Linked DNA regions of Homo sapiens: region 2 is linked to region 1. The links are contacts of gene promoters, found by promoter capture Hi-C in human tissues and cell types (Jung and others, 2019). All regions are on one chromosome and are shown on one strand. Each heading gives the region's core, a stretch centred on a gene start or on the middle of the fragment in contact. The rest is flanking DNA. Distances are from core to core; before and after follow the strand shown. Region 1 holds the start of CRCT1 (cysteine rich C-terminal 1). Region 2 overlaps FLG (filaggrin).

Region 1 (7,724 bases), core at 2,812-5,311:
ATTTCCATCTTGGGAATTTTCTCCTTCAGTTCCTATACCAAAGAGAAAACAGAACTTCTGTTCATTCCAGAGGTGTAGAGCCGTATTGGCCCAGCTCAGAAAATAGAAGGCATAGCAGAGCTGCCTGTGAGATAGATAGGTGCCATGTGCAATTCACAGAGCTCCCTCACCATCCTAGAGGCCTGCAGTTCTCAGGGGATCTTCCTGTGGGTTAATACTTGAGATGCTTATGCAGGGAGGAACTGGGTCCCTGGGATGCGAGGGGAGGGAGTCACCCATGCCTTTATGAAAGATGCTTCTAGCGTCCCGCACATGGTCTGCACCTCCTGATGCTAGGTCAGGACTGAATTGTATAAAAGGCAGAAGCTTCTGACAGCACCTCAGTCTACCTGTCTCCTGAGTGATCTGCTGCAGTGCCTGAACCAGGTAGAGTGCTTCTCAGGACCAGGATGAACTCTTGGTGCTGGTGTTTTGGGCAGAAAGAGCCCCTGGGTGGAGGTTGAGGCCATTCTTGAAGAAAGACAAGGATAAAGAAGGATTTTGGAGGGGAAGGTTCTTCTGGAAGGGGAGGGTGGAAGGTAGGTAAAAGGAATGAAGGACTGATGCCTTTCTGAAGTTCCAAGTTATTCATTTGAAAATATGGAGTTACTAGGTGGAAATCATTTGTATCATTCTTGTTACTGGTCTTGGGAGACTGGGTTTTTAAAATCTGGTTCATCTTAGGCCAGGAGTAGTGGCTCATGCCTGTAATCCCAGCACTTTGGGAGGCTGAGGTGGGCGGGTCAAGAGGTCAGGAGTTCGAGACTGACCAACATGCTGAAATCCCGTCTCTACTAAAAACACAAAAATTAGCTGGGTGTGGTGGTGCACACCTGTCTGAGGCAGGAGAATCACTTGAATCCGGGAGGTGGAGGTTGCAGTGAGCCGAGATAGCACCACTGCACTCCAGCCTGAGTGACAGAGTGAGACTCCATCCCAAATAATAATAATAATCATAATAATAAATTCTGGTCATCTTAGAGATAAAATCTTGTGAAATTATAGTTCAATTTTAAGGGCAAGGAAGTGACCTTGGGCTTGTATTGTCTTTCAGCTTTATTCAGCTTCTACAGAGATGTCCTGCCAGCAGAGCCAGCAGCAGTGCCAGCCTCCTCCCAAATGTACCCCTAAATGCCCTCCCAAGTGTACTCCTAAGTGTCCTCCCAAGTGTCCCCCAAAATGCCCTCCCCAGTGTTCAGCCCCATGCCCACCTCCAGTCTCTTCCTGCTGTGGTTCCAGCTCTGGGGGCTGCTGCAGCTCTGAGGGTGGTGGCTGCTGCCTGAGCCACCACAGGCCCCGCCAGTCCCTCCGACGCCGACCTCAGAGTTCCAGCTGCTGTGGCAGTGGCAGTGGCCAGCAGTCTGGGGGCTCCAGCTGCTGCCACAGCTCTGGGGGCTCTGGCTGCTGCCACAGCTCTGGAGGCTGCTGCTGACCTGGGCCATGAGGAGCACGGAGGAGAAGGACTGGCAGATCCCAGGTGCTGAAGATGTGTGTCAGCCTGAGGCTTCTTTTCTCTCATTTCCCATGGAAGGACTTCGGAAATGCCTTAAGTTCCCCTCTTTATCCTGCCCATGTTCACTCCATTGTAGGGTTGAAGTCTAGCTTGTGATATTTTCTGGCCTGGCTTTCCCTCTCAGACATAGCTCTTTGGAGAACTAGGTGTTGTAATTCAGTTATGAAGCTATTTTCTCTGTAACAATAAAGCTTTTTATTCCTGATATCACTGCCTCCTGATTTCATTGTTTGCCTCTCCCACTCCCTACCTGCTGCATCAAGCCATCTTCCCTTCCCTTCTCTTAAATGCAAGCGAACACTTTACAAACTTGTTTAGGAAGCACATTTTGGCAGTGAAGCTACTTAGGCCTCTGGAAAACAATATTTCCTTCTATGCACTGGATTCTGGAACTTTAAGCTTGAAGGAAAGAATAATGTCTGAGACCATTACGCCAGACACAAGATTGTATGAGGAGAGCCAGGAATGGGTTTGAAGAGAAGAGGATGGTTGTACTCAAAAGGTTCAGGTTCTGAGAGGGTTTCCTTCAAGCATGGGTCACAGTTTGAAAAATTGCTTGTCCCCATTCATGGGGAATAAGATTGCCTGAAGTGCTCATCCTGGGCTCTAATAAATGGACACTCTTTACTTTTCTGATTATTATAAGCTCAGGTGTTTCCATCAGTTGGCTAGAGGGAGAGCTGGGTGGGCAGTGAGTGAGTTTTGGAGGCAGATATGAAACGTCTGAGCACATTTTCCCTGCATGCTGAAATCCTGGATTTGAATCTGGGTAAAGAACTGAGAAAGACACCCTTCTTTGCAAAGACTGTCTCTATGTGGTTGGGACGTACGTGTGTGTGTGTGTGTGTGTGTGTGTGTGTGTGTGTGCAGTGAGAGGTATAAGAGTACAGGGGTTTTGGTCCCTGTGTTGGGTTTTCCAAGCAACATTTCTTTAGGAATGGGCTGGTTCCTTCAGGAGACACTCATAATGTACCTAGAAAAGATAACTAGAAAAGTTAATTCCAAATCAGCCTTTAATATAAAAGATAAACAATTGATGCCTCCTTTGATAAGAGTTAATAGCGATAAATAAAGTAAGCTGGTTTATGAGATCATAGGATGCCCACAGAATGAGTAGGCACTTGCCCAGATTATCTCCTTATACTGATTCCTACCAAACGTTCTTCATTCTTTTTTTTTTTTTTTAAAAGAACTTTGCCCATTTTCCCAGAGGAGATCCTGCCTCTGTCTTGTTATTTCATTACTTCCTTCTCTGTTCTAATATTGACTTTACTTTTTGGAATGTCTCACCTATACTCACCAACAGGTGCTCTAGGAACTGGCAACCTGTTAATCAGGCTCTAAATCCATGTTAAATGAAACTGGTATCTTTTGTGACTTATCTTTCCTCGCCTAGTCCCTTGAGCCACTCCCAGCTCACTCGCCCCCAAACCTGTCTCTCATCCTTAATTCCTGAATTCTTAGTCTTGGACTTCTGTTATAGTTCACATTCACAGTTGTGGGCAATTTGATTAAGAAGCAGTTCTGAAGTTGACTGCCAAAGTATCCTCCAATTCTTAAAAATTAGTTATTCTGAAAACACTATCTATCATGAACACTTTGGACCTTTGGAAAGAACTTTCTTTCTTTCTTTCTCTTTTTTTTCTTCTTTCCCTCCCTCCCTTCTTCCTTTCCCATTTTCTTTTGCACTGGGCAGTGGCCCTAGGGAGAACTTATCTTCAAAGGCAGATTGGTGGTTGGGGGTGGGATAAGAAGCAGGAGTCCCACAGGCTGACTAGCCTTTTTGCAATTGGGCCACTGTCCTGCACACATTTTTCTCTTTGTCATACCATGCTGTATTATGGGGATATGGCAACCTGACTACATTCACAACTTTTCTGGTCTTATGGTTCCTTAACTTTGCCTAGGTTTTTCTTCCTGTCTCCAGTGACAGAGAGAAATCACCCCTGGGGTTCCCAAAGGTGCATCCCCGTCATCATCTTCACTCACTGCATCTTGAAGCATATGGATGAAACCCAGCAGGCTTATCGCATAGCTTGTGGTCTGCCCTGGGGAGCCAAGGACCAAGAGCCAGAGAGATGAGAATCAAGATAAAAATAGGTGAACTACCACCTACCAAGTAGATGACTACATAGGAATGGATGTGTGGGCAAGTGGAGCCGTCTGTGTGTGTGTGTGTGTGTGTGTGTGTGTGTGTGTGTGTGTGTATTGAAGACAAGGGCAGGGGTTCCAGACCTCCCTGCATTTGAGCCCCATGCCCTCTCTTAGCATACACACAGCCTCCCAGGTACAAACAGTGCCCTGTTTGGAAAGTAAACATGCCATAGCAATCCTGGCACCTCTGTGAAGTGACTTAGATGCCCACATGCACCACCTACAATGCTACCTGAGTGATGAATGTCTCTGGGATGTGAGTGTCAGCTGAGCACGTCTGTTGGGAAATGGGCCCCTCCCAAGAGCCTGAACCTGAATACTTCTTATAAAAAGGTTCTCTGGCTGGACGCTGCTCAATCCACTGCCTAGCAGGTGGCCCATTCCAGTTGGAGAACGTAGTGAGTCTTTCAGTGGAGCCAGGGTCTGGTAAGTCTCCTAGCAGGGTCTGGGGGAGAGGGTGGGATGAGTTGAGGGCACAGGGGAGGAGCAAACAGAACACAGGCAGCAGATAGATGTGGAAGGGGTGTCCCGCAAGGCACCTACGCTTCTAGTGAGCCAACCTCTTAAGGTACTAATGAGGACATAAAGGCAACATAGGAGGTGGTTTTTGCAAGGGTACACAGCAAGTCCGCAGAAGAGCTGTGACTAGAACCCAGGTCTTTCAGCTCCCTGGATGGGGTTATTTATATTGGCACAACTCTCCTTTCCCACATGGTTGTGGGGCATGAGAGGCGTAGGCAAGAAAGAATGATCAGGACATGCTTCTGGCCTGTGGATTATTTAGACCCAGCAGGTGGGACCGCCTGTTGGACTTGGGTGTTTTCTAACTGATGGGGGTGTAGTAACTAGGAAGATACAGTCGAAGGTCGGTAGGAAAGTAAAATGAGGGACAAGAAAAAAGCCAAGTGGAGATTTTGGACTGGATCATACAGATAAGTTGCCGCAGTGTGCTGTTTATTTTCCACTGTGGAGAACTTGAGCAGTCTTCTTCTAGTCAGAGAAAATGGAAATGCATTGATTCATTGCATGGATTGTGTCCTGCTCTGAGCATGTTTAACTCACTGGAAACACCTGCTTGGATTTGCTTCTTTGCGTCCGCTCTTTCTGGGTGCTTTTCCCTCCTTGTCCCAGGCCAGGCTGACTTGTACACTAAGCCGAATCTCAAAAGCCCAGACAGAGTTCCATTGGTGGAAAGAAAAAGCCGGCTCGCCTTTGAAAGGCTGCCTTTCTTCCAGGTTTGTCGTGAGGAGCTCCGCGATGTCCTCTCAACAGAGCGCCGTTTCCGCCAAAGGCTTTTCCAAGGGGTCGTCCCAGGGCCCCGCTCCGTGTCCCGCCCCGGCGCCCACCCCGGCGCCCGCCTCCTCCTCCTCCTGCTGCGGCTCCGGCAGGGGCTGCTGCGGCGACTCAGGCTGCTGCGGCTCCAGCTCCACCAGTTGCTGCTGCTTCCCAAGGAGACGCCGCCGACAGCGGAGTAGTGGTTGCTGCTGCTGCGGGGGCGGCAGCCAGAGGTCCCAGCGCTCCAACAACCGGAGCTCAGGATGCTGCTCCGGCTGCTGAGAGGCCCGCAACCCCCAGCGCTGCGCTAGAGAAACCCGCCCAGCCCAGAGCGGGCCCGCCCCGCTGCGGCTCCCACGCGGGGCTGGGCCTCGGAGTTTGCCCCGTAAAGCGAATTGCACTTTGATGTTCAGAAACCCACTTTGTTCTCAGCCACGCAAAACTCCCTGACCCCGATGTGATTTTTCTCCCCGGGGATTCGAGAGCCATGCGTGGGACACTGGACCCTACTGTCTACACGGGCTTGCACACAGCAGGTGCTCAGCAAATGTCTATTGATTTGATTGTCTTTTGAAGATGTCATAATAAAGCTTCTACCTCCTGAGAACACCTTTTATTTGTTCTTCATTCGTTTCTCCACCCAGGTAGAAAGGCTTGAAATGTTTGTGAAAGGCAGAATACTATAATTCATGCCTGAACAAGAAGGTGGCTTTCTGATAGTTAATTATGATAGCAGCGATCACATATCGACTGTTTCGAGTATTTTAAGGATTTTATGCGACAAAGTCCTTGAATATTCTCAGGACTTTATGTGGCACAATCTGATTCTCATAATGACTTGCGTAGGAGAGTGCAATTATACCCATTTTACAGAAGAGAAACTGAGGTTAAGTAATTTGTTCAAAGTCACCCAGCTGGCGCATGATAAAGAAGACAGGACATCTGATTCAAGGGCTTCATTGCTCTGCTGAGTTCTCACCTGGGCTTCCCAAGCCTTACCACTGAGGTGCTCCTCCCGACCACCAGGTCCAGGCAGCTGTGTGGTAAAAGTTTGTTTTGGCAACTCTTTGGGGCTTTGGAATCAAGCCAGCTGTCTTCTTTTTTTTTTTTTTTAGTTTTATGTCTTATTTTATTTTTTATTTTTGGCATGGAAGTTCATTGACCTACTGCTTTGCTTGCTGGGGAGGAAATTTTTCCTAAGATGAGCCTTCCAGGAAACTGGGAGCTGCCCTCTCCAGGTCTCATTTGTGCAGCTGAAGCAGGACCAACAGCCATGGGTTTCTGGGAGTCTCTGTGGTGCAGCATGTGTGCTCGGAAACATGGGGATCTCATTCTTTAGAGATGGTGGCTGTGGCAGTGGCAATGGATGGGTCATCTTGCATAGGTCAGAAACCTATCCCTGTGGGCACAGATTTTATCCACTCATTTCAGGCACGAGGAAACAGGAGAACAATATCCTCTGCATGGTGTCTGCTGGGTTCAGAAGGAAGAGATAATCATGGTAATAATAATAGTAACACTAGTTACCATTTATTTGGCACTATATTTCAGGCACAAGTCAAGGCACTTTACCTATATTATCTCACTTAATCCTCACAGTAATCTAAAAATATAGACATTCACTTCCCCACTTTTTATACGTGAGCACATGGGTTTAGACAGTTCCAGTGGTTTGGCTGAAATCACAGAGCTAGTGAATGTCCCCTTGAGTGAGGGAGATGAGATTGAAACTGGAACCTGTGTGACTCCAAAGTCATGCCCTCACACTCAAAGAGTCATGCTCTACTGTCTTAGAAATCACCACCACACAGGGAAGAGACACTCGGGTCTCTGGACACACCCAGGCTCTCAGAAAATTGCAGCTCGGCTTCTTGGCTGCTGCTCCCTTGGTGACCCAATGAGTGGGGAGCTCTGTCATGGCATCCACCCAGCAGCTGGCGGCTGAGGGTGTCTGCTCAAAGGTGAGGTCGGAAATGCTCTACTGATTCATCCAGGATGTTTGACCTTGCGGCCAAATGACCCCTTGCCAGGGAGGCTCTGGAGGGCAGTCCTGCTCTGCCTGGGAGTGGCCCTTCCTTCCATGTCTGAGATTCTGTGATTTCCAGTGGGAGGTGATTTGTGGAAGCTGTTTACAAACAGATGATATCACCCGTGGACCTGCCTCCCCACACTAGTAATGTGTGCTGAAACAGCAAGCCCTGGGACTTGGTGGGCAGTGGGTGGGAAGGAAGAACTGCCTGACTCAGAACAGACACACTACGCAGCTAATCTGAGGGTGAGGGCTCAACCTGGAGCAGGAAGCTGAGGCCTGAGCTCTGGGAAAGAGAGGTGGTGACTCACGGAGAGATATTAGAGTCCAAATAGGAGCACATGCCCTGTACACCAGGCATTTGGGTCTCATGTCAAATGGCTGGCCCTGATGGTGGTGGTACCTCCAGGCCCACATGCTGCTGAAACCCAGCAGGTCAGCACACATGGACTTTGATGAGAGACATTTGAGTATTTTAAGAATAGTTTCATTTTAGAAATCTAGCAAGCGACTTTGGAAGGTCTAGAGCTCTCTGCTCATGGTCCTTCAGGCTTTTCTGATTTCCAGCAGTAGGTAAAGCTGTATGTGTGGCCCAGGCACTCTCTGTGAGGTGATGGTGGTGGATGCTGAGCCTGTGGGAAATTTGGCAAAGTGAAGTCCTACTCAGAGGTTGTCACCTGGTACACGTGACAGGCAGAATCAGGTTTCGTATTA
Region 2 (7,724 bases), core at 5,225-7,724, 200 kb before region 1:
CTGAATGTCCCTCATTGTCACTGGCCTGACTACCACTGTACCCTCGGTGTCCACTGTCTCTGACTGCAGATGAAGCTTGTCCGTGCCCAATGCCTGAGTGTCTGGAGCTGTCTGCTGACTGCTGGTGGTGGGATCCATGTCTTTCTCCTGCACTTGATCTTGCCTGTTCATGGGATGATGCAGCCTGTCCACCAGAGGAAGTCTGTGTGTGACGAGTGCCTGATTGTCTGGAGCTGTCTGCAGAGTGCCCATGACCAGCTCTGTCTTCTTGATGGGACCTGGGGTGTCTGGAGCCATCTCTTAGCTGCTCCTGAGCAGATCCATGATGGTTTCTGGAAGCAGACCCAGACCACCTCTCAGAGTCTTCTGAGTGTCCCTGACTGTCACTGTCCTGGCTAAAACTGGATCCCCAGTTCCTGCTTGTCCTGGGCCCCTCTGATTGTCCCTGGCCCACCTGCGAGTGTCCAGAGCTGTCGGCCCGAGAGGAAGCTTCATGGTGACGCGACCCTGAGTGCCTGGAGCCGTCTCCTGATTGTTCATCGTTACGAGTTTGTCTGCTTGCACTTCTGGATCCTGAGTGCCCATGGGAGGCATCAGACCTTCCCTGGGATGTGGTGTGGCTGTGATGAGACCCTGAGTGTCCAGATCTATCTACCAATTGCTCGTAGTGGGATCCCTGCCTTCCTCCACTGCTTGACCCCGGGTGTCCATGAATGGTGTCCTGACCCTCTTGGGACGTTGAGTGCCTGGAGCTGTCTCGTGCCTGCTTGTGGTGGGATCCTTGTCTTCCTCCAGTGCTGGTCCCGGTCCGTCCATGGGCGGACTCAGACTGTTCATGAGTGCTCACCTGGTAGAGGAAAGACCCTGAACGTCCAGACCTTCCTGCTGACCGGCCACGTGTGGACTCTTGGTGGCTCTGCTGATGGGGCCCAGCCTGTCCGTGGGCTGACACTGACTGTGTGTCTGAGTCTTCTGAATGTCCCTCACTGTCACTGGCCTGACTACCACTGGACCCTCGGTGTCCACTGTCTCTGACTGCAGATGAAGCTTGTCCGTGCCCAATGCCTGAGTGTCTGGAGCTGTCTGCTGACTGCTGGTGGTGGGATCCGTGTCTCTCTCCTGCACTTGATCTTGCCTGTTCATGGGATGATGCAGCCTGTCCACCAGAGGAATTCTCTGCATGATGAGTGCCTGATTGTCTGGAGCTCTCTGCAGAGTGCCCATGACCGGCTCTGTCTTCGTGATGGGACCTGGGGTGTCTGGAGCCATCTCTTGACTGCTCCTGAGCAGATCCATGATGGTTTCTGGACGCAGACCCAGACCGCCTCTCAGAATCTTCTGAGTGTCCCTCACTGTCACTGTCCTGGCTAACACTGGATCCCCGGGGCCTGCTTGTCCTGGGCCCTGATGATTGTCCCTGGCCCACCAGTGAGTGTCTAGAGCTGTCGGCCCAAGAGGAAGCTTCATGATGATGCGACCCTGAGTGCCTAGAGCCATCTCCTGATTGTTCCTTGTCATATGTTTTTCTGCTTGCACTTCTGGATCCTGACTGCCCACGGGAGGCATCAGACCTTCCCTGGGATGTGGTGTGGCTGTGATGAGACCCTGAGTGTCCAGACCTATCTACCGATTGCTCTTGGTGGGACCCCTGTCTTCCTCCTCTGCTTGGCCCCGGGTGTCCACGAATGGTGTCCTGACCCTCTTGGGATGCTGAGTGCCTGGAGCTGTCTTGTGCCTGATCATAATGGGATCCTTGTCTTCCTCCAGTGCTGGGCGCAGACTGTCCATGGGTGGACTCAGACTGTTCATGAGTGCTCACCTGGTAGAGGAAAGACCCTGAACGTCCAGAGCTTTCCCCTGACTGGCCACGTGCGGACTCTTTGTGGCTCTGCTGATGGGGCCCAGCTTTTCCCTGTGCTGACACTGACTGTGTGTCTGAGTCTTCTGAATGTCCCTCACTGTCACTGGCCTGACTACCACTGTACCCTCGGTGTCCACTGTCTCTGACTGCAGATGAAGCTTGTCCATGCCCAATGCCTGAGTGTCTGGAGCTGTCTGCTGACTGGAGCTGGTGGTGGGATCCATGTCTTTCTCCTGCACTTGATCTTGCCTGTTCATGGGATGACGCAGCCTGTCCACGAGAGGAAGACTCTGTGTGACGAGTGCCTGATTGTCTGGAGCTGTCTGCAGAGTGCCCGTGACCGGCTCTGTCTTCGTGATGGGACCCAGGGTGTCTGGAGCCATCTCTTGACTGCTCCCAAGCAGATCCAAGATGGTTTCTGGAAGCAGACCCAGACCACCTCTCAGAGTCTTCTGAGTGTCCCTGACTGTCACTGTCCTGGCTAACACTGGATCCCTGGTTCCTGCTTGTCCTGGGCCCTGATGATTGTCCCTGGCCCACCTGCGAGTGTCTAGAGCTGTCGGCCCGAGAGGAAGCTTCATGGTGACGCGACCCTGAGTGCCTGGAGCCGTCTCCTGATTGTTTCTCATTACGTGTTTGTCTGCTGACACTTCTGGATCCTGACTGCCCACGGGAGACATCAGACCTTTCCTGGGACGTGGTGTGGCTGTGATGAGACCCTGAGTGTCCAGAACTATCTACCGATTGCTCATAGTGGGATCCCTGCCTTCCTCCTCTGCTTGACCCTGGGTGTCCACGAATGGTGTCCTGACCCTCTTGGGACGCTGAGTGCCTGGAGCTGTCTCGTGCCTGCTCGTGGCGGGATCTTTGTCTTCCTCCAGTGCTGGGCCCTGTGCGTCCATGGGCGGACTCAGACTGTTCATGAGTGCTCACCTGGTAGAGGAAAGACCCTGAACGTCCAGACCTTTCCCCTGACTGGCCACGTGTGGACTCTTGGTGGCTCTGCTGATGGGGCCCAGCCTGTCCGTGGGCTGACACTGACTGTGTGTCTGACTCTTCTGAGTGTCCCTCGCTGTCACTGGCCTGGCTACCACTGGACCCTCGGTTTCCACTGTCTCCGACTACAGATGAATCTTGTCTGCGCCCAGTGCCTGAGTCTGTGGAGCTGTCTGCTGACTGCTGGTGGCGGGATCCATGTCTTTCTCCTGGACTTGACCTTGCCTGTTCCTGGGATGATGCAGCCTGTCCACCAGAGGAAGTCTCTGCATGACGAGTGCCTGATTGTCTGGAGCTCTCTGCAGAGTGCCCATGACTGGCTCTATCTTCTTGATGGGACCTGGGGTTCCTGGAGCCATGTCTTGACTGCTCCCGAGCAGATCCATAATGGTTTCTGGAAGCCGACTCAGACCGCCTCTCAGAGTCTTCTGAGTGTCCCTCACTGTCCCTGTCCTGACTAACACTGGATCCCTGGCGCCTGCTTGTCTTGGACCCCGCTGATTCTCCCTGGCCCACCTGTGAGTGTCTAGAGCTGCCGGCCCGAGTGGAAGGTTCATGGTGACGTGACCCTGAGTGCCTGGAGCCGTCTCCTGATTGTTCCTCATTTCTTGTTTGCCTGCTTGCACTTCTGGGTCCTGACTGCCCATGGGAGGCATCAGACCTTCCCTGGGGTGTGGTGTGGCTGTGATGGTACCCTGAGTGTCCAGACCTATCTACTGATTGCTCGTGGTAGGATCCCTGCCTTCCTCCTCTGCTTGACCCCGGGTGTCCACGAATGGTGTCCTGACCGTCTTGGGATGCTGAGTGCCTAGAGCTGTTTCGTGCCTGCTCATGGCGGGATCCTTGTCTTCCTCCAGTGCTGGGTGCAGTCTGTCCGTGTGTGGACTCAGACTGTTCATGAGAGCTCACCTGGTAGAGGAAAGACCTTGAACGTCCAGAGCTTTCCCCTGACTGGCCACGTGCGGACTCTTTGTGGCTCTGCTGATGGGGCCCAGCTTGTCCGTGGGCTGACACTGACTGTGTGTCTGAGTCTTCTGAATGTCCCTCACTGTTAGTGACCTGACTACCACTGGACCCTCGGTGTCCACTGTCTCTGACTGCAGATGAAGCTTGTCTGTGCCCAATGCCTGAGTGTCTGGAGCTGTCTGCTGACTGCTGGTGGCGGGATCCATGTCTTTCTCCTGGACTTGATCTTGCCTGTTCATGGGATGACACAGCCTGTCCATGAGAGGAAGACTCTGTGTGATGAGTGCCTGATTGTCTGGAGCTGTCTGCAGAGTGCCCGTGACTGGCTCTGTCTTCTTGATGGAACCCAGGGTGTCTGGAGCCATCTCTTGACTGCTCCCGAGAAGATCCATGATGGTTTCTGGAAGCAGACCCAGACAACCTCTCGGAGTCGTCTGAGTGTCTCTCACTGTCACTGTCCTGGCTAACACTGGATCCCTGGTGCCTGCTTGTCCTGGACCCCGATGATTGTTCCTGTCCCACCTGTGAGTGTCTAGAGCTGTCAGCCCAAGAGGCAGCTTCATGGTGACGTGACCCTGAGTGCCTGGAGCCGTCTCCTGATTGTTTGTCCTTACGAGTTTGTCTGCTTGCACTTCTGGATCCTGACTGCCCATGGGAGGCATCAGACCTTCCCTGGGATGTGGTGTGGCTGTGATGGGACCCTGAGTGTCCAGATCTATCTACCGATTGCTCATGGTGGGATCCCTGCCTTCCTCCTCTCCTTGACCCCGGGTGTGCACGAATGGTGTCCTGACCCTCTTGGGACGCTGAGTGCCTGGAGCTGTCTCGTGCCTGCTCGTGGTGGGATCCTTGTCTTCGTCCAGTGCTGGTCCTGGTCCGCCCATGGGCAGACTCAGACTGTTCATGAGTGCTCACCTGGTAGATGAAAGACCCTGAACGTCCAGACCTTCCCCCTGACCAGTCACGTGCGGACTCTTGGTGGCTCTGCTGATGGGGCCCATCCTGTCCATGGCCTGACACTGACTGTGTGTCTGACTCCTCTGAATGTCCCTCACTATCACTGGCCTGACTACCACTGGACCCCCAGTGTCCACTGTCTCTGACTGCAGATGAAGCTTGTCTGCGCGGAATGCCTGAGTGTCTGGAGCTGTCTGCTGACTGCTGGTGGCGGGATCCGTGTCTTTCTCCTGGACTTGATCTTGCCTGTTCATGGGATGACGCAGCCTGTCCACCAGAGGAAGTCTCTGCGTGAGGAGTTCCTGATTGTCTGGAGCTGTCTGCAGAGTGCCCGTGACCGGCTCTGTCTTCGTGATGGGACCTGGGGTGTCTGGAGCCATGTCTTGACTGCTCCTGAGCAGATCCACGATGGTTTCTGGAAGCAGACCCAGACCACCTCTCAGAGTCTTCTGAATGTCCCTCACTGTCACTGTCCTGGCTAACACTGGATCCCTGGCGCCTGCTTGTCCTGGACCCCTCTGATTGTCCCTGGCCTGCCTGTGAGTGTCTAGAGATGTCGGCATGAGAGGAAGCTTCATGGTGACGTGACCCTGAGTGCCTGGAGCCGTCTCTTGATTGTTCCTCATTACGTGTTGTTCTGCTTGCACTTCTGGATCCTGACTGCCCACGGGAGGCATCAGACCTTCCCTGGGATGTGGTGTGGCTGTGATGGGACCCTGAGTGTCCAGACCTATCTACCGATTGCTCGTGGTGGGACCCCTGCCTTCCTCTTCTGCTTGACCCCGGGTGTCCACGAATGGTGTCCTGACCATCTTGGGATGCTGAGTGCCTGGAGTTGTCTCGTGCCTGCTCATGGTGGGATCCTTGTCTTACTCCAGTGCTGGGCCCTGTCCATCCATGGGAGGACTCAGACTGTTTATGAGTGCTCACCTGGTAGAGGAAAGACCCTGAACGTCGAGACCTTTCCCCTGACCGGTCACGTGCGGACTCTTGGTGGCTCTGCTGATGGTGACCAGCCTGTCCATGGCCTGACACTGACTGTGTGTCTGAGTCTTCTGAATGTCCCTCACTGTCAGTGGCCTGACTACCACTGGACCCTCGGTGTCCACTGTCTCTGACTGCAGATGAAGCTTGTCCGTGCCCAGTGCCTGAGTGTCTGGAGCTGTCTGCTGACTGGAGCTGGTGGCGGGATCCATGTCTTTCTCCTGCACTTGATCTTGCCTGTTCATGGGATGACGCAGCCTGTCCACTAGAGGAATTCTGTGTGTGACGAGTGCCTGATTTTCTGGAGCTGTCTGCAGAGTGCCCATGACCAGCTCTGTCTTCGTGATGGGACCTGGGGTGTCTGGAGCCATCTCTTGACTGCTCCTGAGCAGATCCATGATGGTTTCTGGAAGCAGACCCAGACCACCTCTCAGAGTCTTCTGAGTGTCCCTGACTGTCACTGTCCTGGCTAACACTGGATCCCTGGTTCCTACTTGTCCTGGGCCCCGATGATTGTCCCTGGCCCACCTGTGAGTGTCTAGAGCTGTCAGCCTGAGAGGAAGCTTCATGATGACGTGACCCTGAGTGCCTGGTGCCGTCTCCTGATTGTTCCTCATTTCGTGTTTGTCTGCTTGCACTTCTGGATCCTGACTGCCCATGGGAGGCATCAGACCTTCCCTGGGATGTGGTGTGGCTGTGATGGGAACCTGAGTGTCCAGACCTATTTACCGATTGCTCGTGGTGGGATCCCTGCCTTCCTCCTCTGCTTGACCCCGGGTGTCCACGAATGGTGTCCTGACCCTCTTGGGACGCTGAATGCCTGGAGCTGTCTCGTGCCTGCTCGTGGTGCGATCCTTGTCTTCCTCCAGTGCTGGTCCCGGTCCGTCCATGGGCAGAGTCAGGCTGTTCATGAGTGCTCACCTGGTAGAGGGAAGACCCTGAACGTCCAGACCGTTCCCCTGACCGGCCACGTGTGGACTCTTGGTGGCTCTGCTGTCTCAGCCCAGCCTTTCCGTGGCCTGACACTGATTGTGTGTCTGAGTTTTCTGAATGTCCCTCACTGTCACTGGCCTGACTACCGCTAGACCCCCGGTGTCCACGATCGCTGACTGCAGATGAAGCTTGCCCGCGCCCAGTGGCTGAGTGTCTGGAGCTGTCTGCTGACTGCTGGTGGCCGGATCCATGTCTTTCTCCTGGACTTGATCTTGCCTGTTCATGGGATGATGCAGTCTGTCCACGAGAGGAAGTCTCTGCGTGACGAGTGCCTGATTGTCTGGAGCTGTCTGCAGAGTGCCCATGACTGGCTCTGTCTTCATCATGGGACCTGGGGTGTCTGGAGCCATCTCTTGACTGCTCCCACGCAGATCCATGATGGTTTCTGGAAGCCGACCCAGAGTGCCTCTCAGAGTCTTCTGAGTGTCCCTCACTGTCCCTGTCCTGGCTAACTCTGGATCCCCTACGCTTTCTTGTCCTGGACTCCTGCAATGGTACCTGGCTTGTATTTTCATGTCTTGACCTGTTCACTTGAGATGATGATTTGCCATCAGATGACCTTGATCTTTCATATATTTTGTTTTCTTCTAATAGACTATCAGTGGTGTCATAGGCTTCATCCTGGATTGTGTAATATGTGGCAATATGGCCTGATTGTATCCATTTTTGAGTCATTCTTCCTGTATTTTCATAATCATATACTCCTTCTTCATTGTCTTCTTTCTCTTCAAGTCTTTCACTTAGCCTCTTCCTATTGTCTCCTAATCTAGTATTTTCAGTCTTGTTTTTCTCTTTTTTACTTGAGTTATGATGGTTTTTTCCATATTCTTCTTCTCTATGAGTAGGTGAATATCCTTTTCTTTCTTTTTTTTCAGAACTAGATTCATGCCTTTTCCCCCCTGTTTCTCTTGGGCTCTTGGATCTTCCCTTATTCCCTTTTCTATTGTTTCTTCTTTCCAGACTTGAG

The links. The method cuts DNA at HindIII sites, captures the fragments that hold promoters and counts their contacts. A contact is called where the count stands out against the background at its distance.
Region 2: a fragment that was not itself captured here is called in contact with the fragment with the promoter of CRCT1 in region 1 in 2 of the 25 tissues and cell types used here (aorta and bladder).

The regions. Positions count from the first base shown.
Region 1 is chr1:152,510,421-152,518,144 of GRCh38, forward strand. CRCT1 (cysteine rich C-terminal 1) reads left to right here and starts at 4,062. Exons shown (of 2, transcript NM_019060.3): 1 at 4,062-4,132; 2 at 4,942-5,588. The coding sequence starts at 4,964. The coding sequence ends at 5,263. LCE5A (late cornified envelope 5A) reads left to right here and starts at 383. Exons shown (of 2, transcript NM_178438.5): 1 at 383-578; 2 at 1,094-1,757. The coding sequence starts at 1,115. The coding sequence ends at 1,471. The HindIII fragment of the contact is 6,327 bases long and covers 1,055-7,381 here.
Region 2 is chr1:152,306,788-152,314,511 of GRCh38, forward strand. It overlaps FLG (filaggrin), which reads right to left. Exons shown (of 3, transcript NM_002016.2): 3 at 1-7,724. The region is part of intron 3 of CCDST (cervical cancer associated DHX9 suppressive transcript); the gene reads left to right. Among named protein-coding and RNA genes, the nearest start is that of FLG, 15 kb to the right of the region's middle. The HindIII fragment of the contact is 4,044 bases long and covers 4,453-7,724 here.